Regions from separate parts of the Homo sapiens genome. Here region 2 is linked to region 1. Evidence: promoter capture Hi-C in 16 types of primary human blood cells and fetal thymus (Javierre and others, 2016). All regions are on one chromosome and are shown on one strand. The core of a region is centred on a gene start or on the middle of the fragment in contact, and the rest is flanking DNA. Distances in the headings are between cores, read along the strand shown.

Region 1 (6,810 bases), core at 1,329-3,828:
AGTTCAAGCATTGTTGAGTGGTATGAGTTCTTAAGGATTTACTTTGGATCTGGGCATTGATATAATTAGGAAGGTCAATTTAGCAGCAATGGGAATTAGATAAGCAAGTGTTTGACATTCTTGTGGGCTCTCTAAAGTCTTAGATCACTCCAGCCTTGTATGCTAACTTTGGAGACTGATAAAGGCTATTGGTGCCTAAAAGGCTGTGAAATGTATTTTTTAAAAAGCTGTGAAATATTTTAAGTGTACATCACATAATTTAGATTGTAAATTTGATACATCTGCACTATGAAAGTGTCAGAAACGCTAGTGCAAACTTTAATTATGAATAAAAAGACAAATCCAGAAAAAGAAGTGTGCATTTGTCACTCTTAAAAAAGAGTTGGGTGGGGAAAGGATCCAACTGATTTAACCTAATAGGGAAAGAAGAGACAAGTCCTACTCTCCCTGACTCTTGTATTTTGTTGTGGCATTTTAAGAAGGATCCAATTGTATGGATCCAATTAAAAGCAACCAGTGGTTGTGAAAAGGCTTGAAACTACATCTTGTGAACAATGGTTGAAAGTACTTTGAATATGGTTTCTTAAAATGAGTATCTGTAGCAGGGGTAGTTAGAAGGATATGCACGGGAGAGGGAGTGGGAAAGGGTGATAAGCTGTACTGATAAGTGCTTAAATGAATGTCACATACAAGAAGAAAAGAGCAAGAAACAAAGACAAAATAACTACTCATAGAAGAGAGTGCAAGTTGGCTGAATACAAGGAAAATGGCTTATAAAAATGCAATGGAAAAAGATGTCTTGTGAGGCAATTTTGCACTACAGAGGATGGGGACAATTCATGATGCCTAAGGCTCCTCTCAACACGAGAATTGATTTTATTGGTCTCAAATATTGAACAGAGAGGCAGTGTGGAGGTTGAACAGTTCACTGGCCTTGATGTTACAGGCAGGCCCTGTGTCTTAATCTTGGCTCAACCTTTAGGAGTTAGGTCACCTTTAGCAAGTCTCCTGGACTCTCTGGGTCTGCTGCTTCTCTAAAATCGAAATAATATACCCCACATTTACTTTTGGGATTACTGGAAGGCTTTGTAACCACATAAACACGTTTCTGTTTCCATGGGATAAGCCAATAAGGCCCCTTAACACAGCCCTCCTGTTTCTTTTTCCTCCTCCTCCCTTCCTACTCTATTTCGGGTTCTGTCTTCCCACACCCAGCTATTCCTAGTACCTTCCCTTACATGCACCTTATCTTACTGCTGCATTACAGAAAAGTCTAAGGATAAACACAAATAGTCTTTTTCCGCCCTAAGGTAGGGCAAAGGGTTAATAGAATCAAGAGGTAAAGTCTGTAAAAACCATTTTTCCACATTTTTTCATCCTGCAATCGCTGTCTATAAAATGAGCCAACTTGCTGAAGGGGACGCCAAGAAATCACAATTTCAGGACTGCCATGAAGAATGAGTATTCAACTCCTTATCAGAGACCTTTAACCCTTATACAATAATGTATCCATGCAGGTCACCCTACACTGCCTCTACTCTGAAGTCTGCAGCAGAATCACTATTTTTTTTTTAATCACTAATTTTTAAACTGTGGTCTTTACGGCTCAGATCTGGGAGTGGACATTGACCTTTCTTATTTAAACCATTGCCCACAGATAACACATAATTTCTAGCCGAATCCTTTAGTCCCAATATCCCCTCTTTTCACTGCCCTGACTTCCCTCTCAGGTGAGGTTCAGGAAGATGGTTATCTAGAGGGCACAGGTTCTGGGTTCAAATTACTTGGGTGCAAACATGAAATCCACTACTCTGAGGCTGGGCCTCAACTTATCTGCAAAACGAGGATGATTCGTATCTCAGAGAGTTGAAGATTAAGCAGCTTTAAGTAAACTTCTAAACACTTGATCCGGACACAATAAATGGGGCTACCAGAACTATCTTTCCAGCATTCCCACCTGCAAATGCCTTAGGCGTCTCTGAGAATTTGGTCTCTGAGACCTTCCAGAGCATCCATAACTTAAACCCTGCTCTGCTGTCGTTCAGGACGTCTCAATAGTAAATGAACCTGCTGGCTCCCAATCCAGCCAAACCAGGAGATAGGCTGAGGCTTCAGACTGCCTCGCAGATGCTCCATGGCACTTGACGGCAAGAGCTAAAAAGAGGTGATTTAAAACAAGATTTCCTCGGACTTAAAGCTTAAGTACCGGGTTGCGACCCTACTCTCCGCAGGACATAAGCGGAGGGGCGCGGCCCTAAGGCACACGCCGGAGGGGCGTGGTCATGGGCACCCGCCGGAGGGGCGTGGTCATGGGCACCCGCGCGCGCCCAGGGGCGTGTCCTTTTCAGCACCCACCGAGGCGCCAGCCCCCTGACGCGCTGCGTGGAATCCAAATCCCACGGCCGGTGTCGTTACTCTGCGCATGTGTAGCTGCTGGGGGCTGGCCGGAGGAAAGCAGAATTTCAGGGAAAGAACGATCGGGACGGGGAGGACGGGGAGGGCGGGGCAGAAGACGGAAGAGTTGAAATCAGCTGACTGGGTCTCGTGACAGCCTGGGCGGTGGCGACGCAGGCGTATTAGAGCGCGCTCGCTCAAAGCCTGAGCGAAGATGGCGGCCTCCAGAGTGAAACTCTGAGAGGCAGAGGGAGGAGGCGGAGGGGGCGGGGAGGCAGCGCCGCGGCGGCACCAGGAACCCGCGGCAGCGGAGCTGCAGGGCCCCGGCGGGGGAAAGGGGAAGTGGTGAGGGTGAGGAGGCCGGAGGGCGCCTCATCCCACTCTGGAAGCTGAGCCGGCGGCGGGAGGAGCTAGGGCTGGAGCCTCTCCAGCCTCCCGCGAAGGTAAAGCCGACTCCGGGCACTGGGCTCTGGGGCTCTGCCTTACTCCCTTCCCACGCCGTGGGGACTTTGTGGGGCTCAGGGCAGGGAAAACGGGGTGGTCTTGGCTGCTGCAGCCTGCAGCTGCTAAGGAAGCAGATTACCCTTCCCCCAGGCTGCTGGTCTGGTTCCTTTCGTTGGACGCCCCCCCGGCTTTGAGTGACATTAGCTCAGGGCGCTGCCCTGTCCAGCCCCACCCCTTTTTTTTGCTTGTTTTATACCTAGTACGCTCCTCCACTCGCCTTAACATATCCTTACCCCACAGGCTCTTCATTCCCTTGTGGGTTCCGCCCTCGGGATTCCCTTCCAGTCTCCTAGTCTGAGCACCCTTCCTGCTGGATGCCGGCAACTCTTGTTTCCTTGGGTCAGCGACCCTCCTTCCGAACAAGTCCTGCAGACTGACTTTCTTTGCTTTGTTTCGTTTTGTTAGGAAATGAGCATCCGCGTCGTCTGTTCTCCAGTACTTTTTCTAAAATCATTTTCTCCCCTAAGGCTTTTCCTTCCTGCAAGGCAGCTTATTCACGTGGCCTTTCCTCCGCTGCTGTGATTTTATCTTTGAATGTGGCCTTTGGAGTGGGTAAAGTAGGACTTAGACGCTCAGTGAAGTGGCTGTTAATCACTTGATACTTAACTATGTTTAAGAGTGCCTTCCCTTAAATTTTCTCCTTTTGTAGCGTGTTCCGTTAACCACGTTTGTCTTAAGATTGTTTCCTGTGTCCGTTGCTTAGAGGGGGGAAAAAAGTAAAGATTTCACCCTAATGTGGCGGTGGTCTCCCAAAGTAATTATTTCTCATTTTCCCTCTGCTTTTCCCTTTTACGTTATTCTGATTTCCCTCAAAAAGGAGGTTCTGTACCTGATGCTGTTGCGTCCTCTATGAAGGGCTTTATAGTGTACAGTTATGTTGAGCCTTTTGTAATACAGTGTCTTGGGGAAAAAAGTAGAAGTTCAGAACCTGCCCCCAGTAATTCTTTCTTACTATATTTTCTTTCTCAGTTTATGGACTTGATAGGTTTCTAGGTTTGAAACTACTGCCTGCAGGGAAAATTACAGTGATAAGGTTTTATAATATATTACCAGTACTTTGAGTTTATGGGAGTATGAAACAGAATTTGCCTTAAAAAAATAAATTTATAGAAACCACTTGTCAGAAATTCGGTATCCAGAACACAGTTCTTTGATTTTTGGAAAGTACTTTATTGGCTTATCTATCATATAACGTAAAACCTTGTTCACATTTTGTGTAATGTGAAACGCTTTTTAAGCTACTATATCTCAGACTTGGCTTGTGCTGTTAGTATCACAATGCATTCAGGCAACACACGTCCTTGTGTAGAAATTATTACATTATACTCCTTGTTTGAAAACAGGAAGTAGAACATATTAAGGGAGGAAAAGAGGAGTCAGAGGATTATTAAGAAATAAGAATGTAAAGAACCTTAAGGCTAGAGTTCAGTTCATGGAAAATATCAGCATTTGTATTCCACTGAGAGGCAATGAATATTCCTCTTTTTCTAAAGTGGTAGTAATAAATAGTCTAAAATATATTAATGTTATATATTGTTAACAAGCTTAGTTGTAAACAAAATACTTAAGCTAAAAAATAAAATATTAATAAGTGAATGAATTGTTTGGAATAATTTAACTTTATCCACAAATAAATAGAAGATGGTTGCCTTGCCCAGGTGGACTGTAACAATACTGGCTTTATTAAATTTGTTAAAAGGTTGATAGTGGAGTCCGGTTCTCAATAGGTCCCAAATTAGGGTTGAAATTGAAAAGATGTGTTTTAACTAATTTGGCTTCATTCCTCAACCAGTTCTGTTTACACAGGTGAATATGAGGTTTCTGCTACACATACCTTTCCCCTGCTTCTGATTGAGGTACTTTAAATTAGTAATTGAAACAAGGCTGTGCAGATAAACTGCAGCACAAATTTGGTTGCTACAAATAGGTTTTGGCCTAAATGTTCACTGTAAAACATGGCAGTAGTTAAAGGGGAGTTATTAATATTTTGAAAGAGTTCCTTGAGTCAGTGTTTCTCAACTTTATTAGACCCAATAAAGGCTCCCTTTTTATAAAAAATAATTAGTAACACCTTCTTTGCTATCTTTAGTTTATAAATAATGTAACTACCTCTGGCTTTGGCCCTGAGACAAAAAAAGAAGCTTTGCTCTCACTTCTGCAACAAAAAAAGACCTACACTACAAATTCATGACTTTTTTGAAATCTATTAAAGAGCTGAGTCCACAGAGCAAAACCACTGGCTGAAAATTTGAGAGACAGTGCTTACAGAGAGTAGATGTCAATTTCTGTTTACCGTCTTCAGACACAACTGGACAAAAAGCATGATGAAAGCTGAATGCACAATCTTGCAAACTCTTATCCACAAACCTCCCTGGGTCTACTAGAAAAGACTGGAAAGAACCCTGGGTGAGTCTGCTGTGCAGATTGAGAGGGAGAGGAACAGCAACAGAACTTTTAAGAGGGTCAAGAAACTGCTGTGATTCTTCCCCTCTGCCTCTTCTATGGAAAAAAGCTTTAATCTCTGGGGAGAAGGGTATCTCTGTTGGCCCCATTGGTGAACATTCAGGGGGTAGATGAGAAGTGGGAGAGAATCTTATGCCTGGAGGAGGGGCCCTGAGCCCAAAACTGCAGTCGGGAGTGGTCAACAGAACCGAGAGTGCTGCCCTCCTGAGATTCAGGAACACAGTGTTTGACTTAGACTTAATCAGAACATCAGACTGTATCCCCCACCCCCAACCCCCTGCCACCAAGCTAAGAAGCTTTCAGTAACAAGTAACCCACAAAATACTACTAGGAAAGGAACAAGATTATGCAAAGAGGCACAACACAAAGAATCAAACAGGCATTGCTCTAGTAAACCATCGCCCACCAGAGAGACAAACTGTTCTGCAGATTCATGAAGGCTGTAATACACTGAGGATAACTATGGCAAAAACAAATCATAAACTAAGTCCAACTCCTAACCAGATTAACACAAACCCTTCACCAAAGGCCTCACAAAGAACAGGCGTGCTCATTTCCAGTCATAAAAATTACCTCAATCTCTACTCCTACACAACATGTCCAGCTTTTAACCAAAAATTATGAGGCCCATGAAAAAAACTCCCAAGAGAAAGAGCAGTCATCATTATACATTTTTTAAAAAGATAGGAGCTTAAAAAGAACTGTTTTGTACATGTTAAATACTATAATAATGACATTTTGCCTTGAAAAAGTTTGAGCAAACAATGCAGTGAGCATTGGATGGAGTTATAGTTTCTGAATTACTGTGAAGTAGTAGAAGGAAAAAAAGTTATAAGATGGAGTGGAAAATTAGTAACATATATGTGAATGTATGTGGTTCATTGACCACCTGAAGTGTGTGTGTGTATTTTGTGAATTCCTGCATGACTCAGTTGGGTACAATTTTCTGCGTTCACTTAGTGTTGGGACAGAATCACTATAAGCAAATGTGACATTTTCATTATGCTCAAATTGTTCAGTAATACACCAATCCTGTTAAAATTCACATGATCAAGAAAGCATTATAGCAGAATTGACTATATGCATTTCAATATGTAAATAGTTAAGTATGATTATACCAAAATACACAAAGGACGTGTCAGAGGCTTGTATCTTTACATGGAATCATTTTGAGATTTTTTTTGTGTGTGTGAGAGACAATCTTGCTCTGTCACCCAGGCTGGAGTGCAGTGGCACGATCTTGGCTCACTGCAACCTCTGCCTCAGCCTCCTGAGTAGCTGGGACTACAGGCGCTTGCCACCATGCTGGGCTGATTTTTTTTTTTTTCTGTATTTTTAGGAGACAGAGTTTCACCATGTTGCCCAGGCTGGTCTCGAACTCCTGACCTCAAGTGATCCACCCACCCAGGCCTCCCAAAGTGCTGGGATTACAGGTGTGAGCCACCATGC
Region 2 (6,810 bases), core at 3,128-5,627, 2.1 Mb after region 1:
GACAAAATCTGACTAGCCCAAATTAGGTCACCTAATTCCTGATACAATGAGCTACAGTTCTGGCACCATAACACAAGTTACGAACTTGCCCAGAGGCTATTCCTGGGGGTGGCGGCAGTTCTCGGATGAGTGTCATAGACACAAACCAACAGCTGTCTTACAGATATCATATTCTGGTTCAGCAGAAATCAAGAATAGCTTTCATATTTTACTGGTCTACTAATATTCCAGGGAAAGGCTAGGCAGGATTCACATGAACATTTGTCAAGTTCTTAGATGTTAGTGTCTCAGAGATTACATACCACAAGTAAGCTGTAAAATCCTCATTTAACAAGAATGTGAAAGAACTGTGGCGTTCTAGGTATTTTAATTTTTTGAAAAGCTTTTTCTCTTGTATAAGTTTTTTTAATATTGTAAGTCTCTTTTCTATTAGGTTGTCTTTCTTTGCTTACTGAAGGGACTGGTGCCTTGGGGTCTTTATTCTGAAGATAAAAGATTTCTAGGCAGAACTACTGATGCAAAGAGAAGAAATCAGCCTGGATGTATCTGGATTATAGGATAGCTGCTAAAATCATGTTTGTGATTGAAAACCTAAAATAAGCTAATTTGTTTTTTCATGTACCTCTTCCTCCTAAAAGCTAAGTAAACAAAAAGACCCAGCATAAAAAGGATGAGAAGAGATTTTAGTTATTCAGTGTTTTCAGAGTTTCAACAAGGGATACAGATACAAGCAGCTTCTTACAGAGTTTACAATCTGGGGAGAGAACATGAAAGACACTGTTTAACAGGCAAATAATTCCAGGAATAAATATACATGAATGTGTTTTTCAAAATACAGGTTCTTATACAAATGTATAACTAAATACTGATTCCATAGTGGGGTGGTTGTAACTGAAAGGGCTTTGAGAAAAGGCTTTGAATAAAACTAGTCATCCACCTAGCCAAAGATCCTTTCCAGCAGCACAAAAGGAATTTGTAAGGAGAACAGAGATTAACTGTCAGATATCTTTCTAATCTGTAAATTTATCCAAAGTTTGAAAATACCATGAAGAATCTTAGGAATGCCAGTAACCAGGGAATGGGATATTTGCATATCACAACATCTACAGGCTAAATACACTCCGAATGCTTCTCAATGTGGGGAAGTATGAGAAGTTAATAATTCTCCTAGTGTCTGGCTTCCTTTTTCTTTGCCTTTCCCTCTCATACGTTCAATCACCTGTGTTACAGGACACACATAAGTAGTTGGAAGGTGTTAAACTTTGACAGCAAAGCAAAATCAGAGGTAGAGGCAAATGTTTAACCAATCATGTTCAAATATAAGCTACTCAATGAAGAGTTTTAGGTTTAAAGAGCGAAATATTCACCATTACTGAGAAATCTCAGTTTCTCATTCAATTTCGCATTGCACTTTGCTACCACAAACTAAATGGGTGTACATTTTTGAGTGCTGATTTATTACTCAAAGGTTTGAATTTGGAGACTGAAACAAACCATGCTTTATCTGTGTACTTTGAGAAAATCCATCCACAAGAAAGGAGCCAAGCGTCAGTTTCCAATGGGGGGAACATTCTCATGGAGGTACTGTAAGGCTAAGTCTGTCCACTTCATTTCTTGTTCTTTGACAGATTCTGTGGTGCCACCATTGTCTTGTTCAGGTTCAGGAAGCTCATTCTGAAAAGGTACAATAGAAATTCAGAACAGTAATATATTCTGCATCTTCTTGGAACTCAAGAACACTTAGAATTAAAGCTTGTGAGTTCCTAGGAACAGGCAACATAATTGATATGTGTATTCTAAAAAAGCTAAAATCATACACGTGAGGAAACTATCAGAAGTATCATTCAAACATGGCCCGGGCCTTCTTCAGTAGGGAATGATGGGCATTTTGACTCTGACATTTGTGAAGGAGGCACTGTGGCAGAAAGGTTAAGGGCAGAGGCTTTTGGAAGCCAACTAGGATCCAAGACCACAACTCTCCCATTTGCTGGGTTACTTGGGCAAGGTATGCAAACCCTTGGGGCCTTTGTTTCTTCCTTGGCAAATGGGAGAACAAAAGAGCCATCACCTCACAGGACTACTGTAAGGATTAGGTGAGGTAATTCAGATCAAGTGCTGAGCACTCTGTGGGGTATCCAGTGCTCAAGGAATATTTGCTATTATTATTAGCGGCTAGGAACACTGAGATGAGTGAATCCTAAATCTTCTTTAGCGGGAGCGTGCTTTAAAAGAATACTAGTTTGCTGGCATATTCCTTAGACACAAGAAATGTATCCAAAAAATTATCTTGGACCCAACATGTCTTTTTTTTTTGAGATGGAGTTTTGCTTTTGTTGCCCAGGTTAGAGAGCAATGGCGTGATCTCGGCTCACCACAACCTCTGCCTCCCGGGTTCAAGCGATTCTCCCGCCTCAGCCTCCCGAGTAGCTGGGATTACAGGCATGCACCACCATGCCCGGCTAATTTTGTATTTTTTTATTTTTTTTTAGTAGAGATGGGGTTTCTCTATGTTGGTCAGGCTGGTCTCGAACTCCCAACCTCAGGTGATCCACCCGCCTCAGCCTCCCAAAGTGCTGGGATTACAGGCGCGAGCCACCGCGCCTGGCCCAACATGTCTATATTATAATAAAAATGGAGGTAGGGCAGGAAACACTGAAAATGTAATTAATAGATAAGACCTCCCTCTAGTGGTGGAGCAGAGCAACAAAAAACACAACAAATGACCAATTCACACCCTACCAGCAATTTTCTTAAAATGGTAAGTCATGGGCCACACTTACTGTAGGATCTGGGATCATTTACTTGTATTTTAAGTTTAAATGTATTACTACTGAAACTCTGCTTTGTACCAGAGTTCACAGATACCAATATATTTCTTTTCAATTATCTGTGTTTTGTTTTATGGTTAGCAAACTGTTATGCGATATCCAGACTTAAAATTTTCCACTGGATTCTAATTTGTAGTATGTGAATATGTTTTCCCCTCTAAAATTATGCTCAATATATATTAAATGATATTTACTTATCTATATTTGAATCACATACATCTTGTTCTACAAGACAGATTCAAACATACTTGAACAGATTGAGAAGAGCTATCATTTATTGTAACGCAATAATATATTATCTTAAACTTAAAAAGAAAGTTCAGTCCTAATAATTACTTATAGATGACAAAGAATAAATAGGTCCTTGGTTAATGAATTCTTTAATTCAGAAGCAGACAACGTTGCTTAATTTCATCCTATCTGTGGTATGCTTTCTAAAATAATGTGTCTTTCATTTGGTATCTACTGTCCCTTGCAATACATGCCAACACATAAAATGGCATATATGCCTGGAAAACAAAAACAAAAGTATCATAAACCCAGCCACCCATTATGGTGTACTGTAAAATGCCCTTAGTTCTTTGCAGCTACTCTTATCAAAAGGTGAAACTGATTTCCCCAATCTTGGATTTGGACTGGCCCTGTGAGTTGTTTTGGCCAACAGAATGAAGCTGTCATGCCAGTGGGCCAGTTCTTGGCCTAAGCTCCAAGAAGCTCTGCCGTTTCCTCTCAGGTTGCTCTTGGAACCCTGAGATTGAGAAGTCTGGGCTAGCCTGCTGGATACCAGAGACCATGGCATAGTCACCCCATCACCCAGCAGACAGCTTGTTAACTGCCAGACATGTGAGACAGTCCTAGATTACCCAGCCTCCAGAGTCTGTTGGCTGACTGCACAACACAGGCAAGCCTGGCAGGGATCAGCTGAGCTGGTGCAGACTAGAAGTCCCTCCCAGCTGAGCTACAAAATCATGAAATAAACAGTTGCTCTTTTAAGTCACTAAGCTTTGGGGTGACTTGTTATGCAGCAAAACCTAACTGGCATACACATTGCCTTAGAATCGCAAGACAAGCGAAAGGTGTGGATTAGCAGCAGGGCCAAGCCAACTTCGCCTGGAAGTCAGCAGGGAAACCTCCTTCCACCCCTGCCACCCAAATGTTCTCCAATCTGAGCCATAAACTTCTCCAGAAATGGACGTCTCCTTTATTTTCTTGACTTTGTTTAGGCCCTCCTCCCTTGCCTAGACCACAACAGCTTGCCAATTGGTCTCACTTGCCCCTATCTCCATGTCACACCATCTCTAACAATGCTGGCTAAACTGATTTTCCAAAAGCCAAATCTGAGCATAGCAGTCTTGCTTTTAAGACCATTCATTCCTGGATCTCCTGAGGATGAGGTCTAAGTGTGATATCAAATACCACTCTCAATCTGATCCAAGCCCAACTTTTCAGCCTACTTATGTGACAAATGTATTCTTCATCCACAGTGAATGACTCACCATGTCCCAAAGCCTTTCAAAACTCTGGGCCTTTACACATCTGTCCCCTCTGCTGCAATACCCTTGTCTACCTCCACTAAACTTCTGGTCCTTCCTTATGACCCAGCTTAAACATGACATTCTCTCAGAAGCCTTTCTGATGCCCACCAGGCAATCAGCCACTTCGTATATGATGTGGCTGTTTATGCCCCCACCTAGAATATTTATTATCACAATTACTTATCTATAAGTGTTGCCTTTCTAGACCCCTCAGGAGGAGGAACTGTATCTTATGTTCACATAGTCTTATGGCACACAGTAGGCTTCAAAAAATGCTTGTCAAATGAATGAATGAACAGAAGTTCACAAGACAGGATTTGGAACTTCACAGACCTAGGTATATGTTATATGAAGCCCTACTTACCTGCTACCAGACTTTGGGCAAGTTGCCCTTTCTGATCCTATTCTTTTCCTATAAAATGGGAATAACAGCACCTCCCTCACAGGGTTGTTTAAGAATTAGAGATAATGTATATTTCCAACCTCAGTCCATGGCATAAAACTGGTATTCAATAAATGACATCTATAATTCTTATTATGCTCTCTCTTTTGACTATTTTCCTAAGCTTGAACTAAGCTATGACTTATTTGATATGTATATTATTCATTGAACATATTACTATCTCTTATTCGTAAATGAAAATACAGATGAACTATTTTATTTCTTTGCAAACAGCAACAGCAGATATTCTAACTATAAATTATATTTTATTCAATACTAACTACTCTTCTCAGGGCAGCTGGCATGCTTTAAAGAAAAACAGTCCTGTTTTCCCTTTTTTAGGCCTCTATGACATAAATAGGATTTTAAACAAACATTTATATAAGCAAAACTTTTGGATCACTTATTACATGAGGTTTAACAAACTCCCTGCAGCAGAGTTTTCCAAAGATGGGGAAGAAAAGAGTATTCCAGAAGGCCACTGGCCTAAACGCAAAAGAATACCCAGGTATCTTCTGAATATTTTCCAGGGAACCTAAGATAGGTGTATGCTCCAAGAATGTAAGTTTCTAAAAATGCTGAAAGACTGATGAGCCACAGGCAGGGAAGTAAGAAACAGAGCTCATATGCTGCTGCTTCTTGTTCTTCCCCATCTTGCGCATTAAACTCTCATTATTTGGTTTCTCTGGTTTTCGTGTGGTGGACAGAACATGGCTCAGAAAATCGGGGCTCTAGTCCTGGCATGACTCCTAACTGACCTGGCCATGTTAGCTCCCTGAACCACATTTTTCTTCAAATAAAACATACAACTGGATGCTCTCCAGAAGCTTCTAGAGTTAGAGAATTCCACAGCTTTGATTTCTTTGCCACACTAGTTTATCTTCCATTGATATCCCTCCTCCACTAGTTACTGCCAGATCAATACCTTTAACCCATCCTCAGCTCAAATCATAACCTACCAGTGGTATTGCGACATCCTCATAAGGCAGCTTGTCTTCTCGCCAAGCATCATCAATCAAATCCAAGATCCTTCCATCTCTCTGAACCTCACTGTCCATTTTCCTGCAGCTTTGATCTTGTCAAATCTGTAAGCCAAAGAGGTTATTTCTTAAACACGAAGACTGAAGAGATGGTATAATCCACTATTAGGATTCTCCAGGCTTTTTAGTCTGGGGCCACCTTTTGGGAAAAGGTTCATTTTCTCATATGGGCCGGGTGACTACTTTGATCACAGTTCCTCTCTCCAACCCCAACTGATACATATTTTATAGTGTATACTGGACAGGCATAGCCCAGCTGACAGACCAGTGTCATAGAGTGTGACAGGAGAGCAACACGTTAAACGAGGCCCTCAAATATTAATATGTTGCATCTCAATGTAGCTCTTCTCTTCTAACTTGAACATTCACCTTTTCCTGTTTGTGATGCCTTTGATGAGTCCCTGATTCATAATGGCCAGCTAAGTTTCCTTTCTAGCCCCTGGCTCAAACCTCAGCATTCTTAGGCACAGGAGTCACACGAACATACTGTAAAGGAAACGGCTTCCTTCCCTAAAATAGTACCCAGGCTGAGATCTGAATAAAGCACTTCTAGGTGAACACCAGTGGTAGAACCTCATACTGCTAAAGTTTCTCCAGTTTCTGCTTCCCTTTGGGGTAGCTCCTTCCTCGGAGGTTCCTTCCTCTAATTCTTAACGCTACACTCCCTTCAATTTCTGGCCCAAATGGTCACGATGCTTATTTAGCTCCTTGACCATGGCTGATTCCCCATTTTTCTCTGAAACTGCTATAATCTAATCCAAAAGGCTGGCTAGCTTGTAGGATACTTCTGGATTTCCCTGTTTCCAAGGTTGGGCCCTGACTCATCATAGGCATCATCCTATGGGTGCTCCCTGCTACCAAGTGACAATCCAAAAAGCCCGGAAGCCACTGGCATCAAAGGTACTCTCAGTTTCTGAGACTATGGAGACTCACACAATAAGCAATTTTGGGGTGGTGGAGCGGGG

Evidence for each region. The method cuts DNA at HindIII sites, captures the fragments that hold promoters and counts their contacts. A CHiCAGO score of 5 or more calls a contact.
Region 2: a fragment that was not itself captured here is called in contact with the fragment with the promoter of DNAJC13 in region 1 in 1 of 17 cell types (fetal thymus); the score reaches 6.2 in fetal thymus.

Annotation. Positions count from the first base shown.
Region 1 is chr3:132,414,924-132,421,733 of GRCh38, forward strand. DNAJC13 (DnaJ heat shock protein family (Hsp40) member C13) reads left to right here and starts at 2,579. Exons shown (of 56, transcript NM_015268.4): 1 at 2,579-2,837. RefSeq lists silencers at 2,269-2,368, 2,649-2,788 and enhancers at 2,819-2,968, 2,908-3,443. The HindIII fragment of the contact is 2,245 bases long and covers 2,196-4,440 here.
Region 2 is chr3:134,477,042-134,483,851 of GRCh38, forward strand. ANAPC13 (anaphase promoting complex subunit 13) reads right to left here. Exons shown (of 3, transcript NM_015391.4): 2 at 5,765-5,890; 3 at 665-1,674. The coding sequence starts at 5,863. The coding sequence ends at 1,549. Among named protein-coding and RNA genes, the nearest start is that of ANAPC13, 5.5 kb to the right of the region's middle. The HindIII fragment of the contact is 1,099 bases long and covers 3,829-4,927 here.